2 separate regions of the Homo sapiens genome follow, and region 1 is linked to region 2. The links are contacts of gene promoters, found by promoter capture Hi-C in blood cells and fetal thymus (Javierre and others, 2016). All regions are on one chromosome and are shown on one strand. The core of a region is centred on a gene start or on the middle of the fragment in contact, and the rest is flanking DNA. Distances in the headings are between cores, read along the strand shown. Region 1 overlaps XRCC1 (X-ray repair cross complementing 1). Region 2 holds the start of LYPD3 (LY6/PLAUR domain containing 3).

The links. Contacts are between HindIII fragments. The CHiCAGO score rates a contact against its expected background, and 5 or more counts as called.
Region 1: a fragment that was not itself captured here is called in contact with the fragment with the promoter of LYPD3 in region 2 in 5 of 17 cell types (naive CD4 T cells, total CD8 T cells, fetal thymus and 2 more); the score reaches 7.7 in naive CD4 T cells.

Annotation. Positions count from the first base shown.
Region 1 is chr19:43,553,126-43,556,099 of GRCh38, reverse strand. It overlaps XRCC1 (X-ray repair cross complementing 1), which reads left to right. Exons shown (of 17, transcript NM_006297.3): 4 at 1,296-1,454; 5 at 2,417-2,491; 6 at 2,588-2,699. Among named protein-coding and RNA genes, the nearest start is that of XRCC1, 21 kb to the left of the region's middle. The HindIII fragment of the contact is 1,964 bases long and covers 644-2,607 here.
Region 2 is chr19:43,464,017-43,466,949 of GRCh38, reverse strand. It overlaps LYPD3 (LY6/PLAUR domain containing 3), which reads left to right and starts at 1,342. Exons shown (of 5, transcript NM_014400.3): 1 at 1,342-1,457; 2 at 2,494-2,625. The coding sequence starts at 1,379. RefSeq lists an enhancer at 2,590-2,933. The HindIII fragment of the contact is 14,493 bases long and covers 1-2,353 here.

The DNA.
Region 1 (2,974 bases), core at 376-2,875, 89 kb before region 2:
CCTGGGCAACATAGCAAGACCATGCCTCTACAAAAAATAAAAAATTAGCCAGGTGTGGTGTCGTGCATCTCTAGACCCAGCTACTCAGAGGCCAAGGTGGGAGAATCACTTGAGACCCAGAGGTCGAGGCTGCAGTGAGCTATGATCGCACCACTGTGCTCCAGCCTGGGTGACAGAGAAAGACCCTGTCTCTTAAAAAAATAATAATAATAAATAAAATCAAGTTATTTGCTATCTGGGATCAGCACCATGACAAACTACCAACATGAGTGCTGCCGGGTCAGTCAGGGTCCTTGCCCGGAGATTAAAACCACACCAGTTATTTTAACAGATAATTTGATAGAAAGAACCAGTAACTAGGTGTTACTAGAAGACTAAGATATGAGGGAGAAGCAACCGCAGGGAGTAGCTACCACTCCCAGGGTTGGGGGAACAAAAGAAAGGAGCAGGAATTATTGAAACGTAGATGTTTGGAAACTGGGAGGTGGGGCTCCAGGAGCTGAAATTCAGATCGTTTGAGGAGGGCTTCCTCCCCCACCGGCTGCTGAGAGGGGCTGAATGAGGCTGTTTCTGGAGGTATTGGGACACTGCAAACTGGATTCATCTGCTGCTGCAGGCAGGAACCACTGCAGCAGCAGAAGCTTAACTGGGGGTGATGCTCACAGGATCTGCAATGCACGAGAAGCTGGTCCTTCCTCCCTCCTGCAGCCTTGCAAACTCTCTCTCTTGCCCCCCCTATTGGCAGAGCCTGGTCACGATCAGCTAGGGAAGCAGAAAGGTGGTTTGCCAAGTGCGGGCCCAGATCACAGAGATGAGTTGTAGAGGGTAGGTTTGAGCTGAGAAACAATCACTTAATACTTAGTGCAGCTCGCCTGACTCTCTGGATTCTGTTTTCTCATTTCCAGCCTCTAGTAATTCCCCTTGCCTTTCCGCTGACTCACCTGTGCATTTCCAAAAGGTGTTTGAATATTGTGCCAGTTTACTGAATATTCTCTGCCGGGAAAGTTCCTTAGGACATGTAGCCCGCTGTATTGCCAGATATGGAAGACTCCATGGGAGAATTTAGATAAGGGTCGCTCACATCTGGAGGATAAAGAGATCCCTCTGGGGCCTGTGTCAGGGCAGGACTGACTCAAGGCCTAGAAACAAAGGGTCTGGAGACATCTAGGCCCAAGCTACATTCTAGTGACTCCCAGTCCCCTGTGTGGGCCCTGTGCCCTCTTCCCCAGCCCCTAGAAGCTCTCATCTAAGCCAACCTGCCCTGGTTCTCATGCACTGTGGCTTCTCCCACCCAGGTCCTTCTGGTCACCTCATCTTTCATGTCCCCTTCCGAGAGCCGCAGTGGCTCAAACCCCAACCGCGTTCGCATGTTTGGGCCTGACAAGCTGGTCCGGGCAGCCGCCGAGAAGCGCTGGGACCGGGTCAAAATTGTTTGCAGCCAGCCCTACAGCAAGGTACCTAGGGTGGGAGCCAGGGTGCAGAGTCCTTGGTCCTGGGCAAGGAGGGAAATAAGGGCCAATATTGAGTCCCATAGGGCTGGGAGGAGTAGACAGCTGGTGTCCCATGGGATTATGGGGAGGCTGGGTCCCTGCGTTCCCTGAAATGGGTTTGGGATCTTTCCTGTAATGAGAAGTTTCATCTCCCGGAGGAATCTAGGAAGGGTGAACTGCAGCATCTCAGAGGGGAATCGGAGGAGGGGAACTGACTTGTTAGAGAGGTGGCCTAGTAGAGTGGGCCTAGTAGTTAACATCAGGAGATCTGGCGTCTGATTACTGAGTTCACGTCCTGGCTATACCACTTTTTAGCTGTGTGATCTTGGGCAAGTGACTTACGCTCTCTGGGCCTCCATTGCCTGATCCTTACAGGGTTGCTGTAGGTTAAGGGATGCTAAAAGCTGTGGTAACAGTGAGACTGGAGTATGTGATGATGCCACACACTAAAGGTGTGCTTCTTGCCCAGGTAACTGTCCTGGGGAGTGTTTAGCCTGTCAGCTGGCTTCTCCTTATGAGGTCGTGCAGGGACCCAGACTTCTCCTATTTTCTGGCTCTGCATCCAGCTGGCAGAGGAGAGAGCCTGGAACACTTCTGTGTTCTGGAAGTGGCACGCAGCACTCCCTCCCATTCCACAGGCAGGAGTTTGTGCATAGGGCAGTGAATTCGCTGGGACACCTAGTAGACTCTGCCAATTGCCCAAAGAGCTAATGCGTGAAAAGGGCTTGGAGCCAGACTCAGAGTTAGGGCTCAGTCATAACAGCTTAATCCTATAATTGTCATCACCATCGCCAGGGCCCCTCCTTCAACATGGGTGTTCATGAGAGGGAAGGAGCCAGGAAGAGGTTTCCCTGAGTGAAAAGGGTCTTGGGCCCTGGCCTCTGTCCTTGGGCCAGACTCCCTGACTCCCACCCCTCCTTTCCCAGGACTCCCCCTTTGGCTTGAGTTTTGTACGGTTTCATAGCCCCCCAGACAAAGATGAGGCAGAGGCCCCGTCCCAGGTAAGCTGTACCTGTCACTCCCCATGGCCTTCTCCCTGCCTCTCCACCCCCACCTGCCAGCAGCCCACCTATAATACTGACCTTGCGGGACCTTAGAAGGTGACAGTGACCAAGCTTGGCCAGTTCCGTGTGAAGGAGGAGGATGAGAGCGCCAACTCTCTGAGGCCGGGGGCTCTCTTCTTCAGCCGGATCAACAAGACATCCCCAGGTGAGCTCGGACAACGTGGGTCCTGAGTGAGTAGGGTTGAGACCTAGACTCGTGGGTCTGAGGGTAGAGGGGGCTGGGGCTCAGATTCCTGGGTCTGAGGGAGGAGGGTAGTGGAGTCCTGGACTCCTGGGTCTCAGGGTGGAGGAAGGTGGGCCTGGCCTCTTGTGTCCTGAGGGTTGAGAGGTCTGGAGGCTGGGACTCCTGGATCACTGGTGGGTTTTGGCAACAATATTCTGTGTCCCATAGATAGGAGTGAAAGGGTCTTGGGGCTCAGC
Region 2 (2,933 bases), core at 93-2,592:
TTCCATTGGCCGAACCAACCACTCTCTTTTGCCATTCACTTCTTTTTCTTTTTCCTTTTTTAAAATCATATATCCTACTCTCAGATCCATTTACTTTTTTTTAATTTTTAAATTTTTAAATTTTTTTTTTTGAGACAGGGTCTCACTCTGTTGCCCAGGCTGGAGTGCAGTGGCGTGATCTCAGCTCACTGCAACCTCCACCTCCTGGGCTCAAGTGATTCTCCTGCCCTACCCTTCCGAGTAGCTGGGACAGCAGGTGCACGCCACTGCACCTGGCTAATTTTTTTAAATTTATTATTTTTTTTTAATAGAGATGAGGTTTCGCCATGTTGCCCAGGCTGGTCTCAAACTCCTGATCTCAAGTGATCCACCCAGCTCGGCCTCCCAAATTGCTGGGATTACAGGCATGAGCCACCGCGCCCGGCCTCCATTTACTTCTTGATGGCTAGCTGCACTATTTCTCAGGTTGATCATATTAGGAAGCAAATCTATTATGTCCTCCAGCTCATTTAGACCCTCTTAAAGGTTCTCTACTATTCTCAAAATTAATCCAAATCTCTTGTCGGGGCCTCTGATGCCCTGAGTGTCTCGGCCTCTGCCTGACTCTTTCATCTCAGTTCCTGCCCTTCTCTCATGGACTTCTGAGCTCAGGAGCACTGCTCTCCTTTCCATGTTTGAATGGTCCATCCTACCTCCTACCTCCAGGTGCTCCCACGTGCTGTTCCCTCTGCTTGTAAAGGGCTGTGTCCCTCTCTTGACCTGCTCTAGCTGGCTACATCCTGCATGCCCTTGAGGTTGCATCTCAGATAACCTCAAGGAAGCCCTCACCGACCAGCCCCCACTTCTAGACTGCACATCTCCTTGTATCACTACACTTTTTCCTTCAGTGTCTTAGTCTCTTTGGTAAACACCAATTTGTACGATTATTTGATTAGCATCTGTCTCCCCCATCAGACTGTGAGCTCTGCCAGGACAGGCACTGGTTCTGTCTTCATCTCCAGCATTACCTAGACCAAAGCCGGGCACACTGTAGATGCTCATTTAACAGTTACCGAACACTGAATGTCGAGTAGCCCCAGCCTGTCTTTAAGCCCCACTACTCTCCCACTCCAAACACACACAGACTTTCTCCCGCGAGCTGTCAGGGAACCTCAGCTCCCACCCTTTCCCTCCTTGGCAACTTCACAGGGCAGGGACCGCTCTCCCTTGGATGACGCGCCTAGGGGCGGGGCCCCGCCCCACAGCCGACGCTGAGTTGGCCCGGTTGGGCAAGGCTGGGGTTGCCTGGGGCGAGGTTACTCATCCTGGGCTCAGGTAAGAGGGCCCGAGCTCGGAGGCGGCACATCCAGGGGGGACGCCAAGGGAGCAGGACGGAGCCATGGACCCCGCCAGGAAAGCAGGTGCCCAGGCCATGATCTGGACTGCAGGCTGGCTGCTGCTGCTGCTGCTTCGCGGAGGTGGGTCTGCTGCCCGGAGAGGTGGAGGGGGTAGAGTGGGGGCTCTTAGGGAGGAGGCTCCTCTGGCCCCGTACAGAGAAGGCTGTGGGAAGGATCCCCACATAAGCAGAGGGCACTGTGGGCAAAGTTCCCCCATCCTAAGCAAGGGAGGCAGAGGGAAGGGTCCTCCACCATGGGCCGTAGGAAGGGTTCCCCACCACGGACAAGGGGAGCTGTGGGCAAAATTTTCCTATCCTGAAGCTGCAGAAAGAAGTCCCCTGTTCCTAGGCCGGGCGCGGTGGTTCATGCCTGTAATCTCAGCACTTTGGGAGGCCGAGGCAGGCGGATCATGAGGTCAAACGATCGAGACCAGCCTGGCCAACATGGTGAAACCCTGTCTCTACTAAAAATACAAAAATTAGCTGGGCGCGGTAGCGCGAGCCTGTAGTCCCAGCTACTCGGGAGGCTGAGGCAGGAGAATCGTTTGAATCCAGGAGGGGAGGTTGCAGTGAGCCGAGATTGCGCCACTGCACTCCAGCCTGGCGACAGAGCGAGACTCCGTCTCAAAAAAAAAAAAAAGAAAAAAAGAAAAAAAGAAAAAAGTGTTCCCTGTCCTGGGCAGAGAAGCTGTGGGTAGTGTTCTCTCATTTGAGCAGAAGGGGGCTGTGGGAAGGGATCCCTCACTGAGCACAGTCTACTGTGGGAAAAGTTCTCCCACACACTGTGGGAAAAGTTCTCTCATTCTGAGCAGAAAACCGTGAGGAGGTATCCTTCCTACCCCGGGATGAGGGGCTTCATGGCGGGGATCGCCTACAGTGGGCATACAGGGCTGTCGGAAGGATGTGCCCACAGTTGGCATAGTGGGTGTGAAGGAAAAGGGTCCAGTGATTCCCGTGCTTCCAGATTTGTGGAAAGCTTTTCCCTACTCCTGCCCTGGAAAAGTGTGTGCAATAAGACTGTCTAATCCCGGGACAGAGGGCATGGGAAGGACTATTTCTCCTTGGGGGTGGACGCTTTAGCAAGGAGGGCTCAGGTCTATTCGGCTCCGCTCCCCCAGGAGCGCAGGCCCTGGAGTGCTACAGCTGCGTGCAGAAAGCAGATGACGGATGCTCCCCGAACAAGATGAAGACAGTGAAGTGCGCGCCGGGCGTGGACGTCTGCACCGAGGCCGTGGGGGCGGTGGAGACCAGTGAGTGGGGACCCCCGGGCCACGCACACCACTGCAGGCTCCTCCGGCCCAGCCCCGCCTCCTTATAGTCCTTTCTGGATCTGGCCACGCCCCTTTAACGCGGCCCCACCCCTCCCTTTCAGCCTGGCCGGGACCCTACGACACAGCCTTGCAGGCCAGGCCTTCTCTATTAACAATTACAAGCGCGAGGAGCAGAGAGTTGAGAACTGGGTGGGGCGGACGGGGAGAGCTCGGGTTTGGAACGAGGTCACGTCCTATGCACTTTTTCTGCTCCACCAATGAGACCTCCCCATCCCTGCCTGTCAACC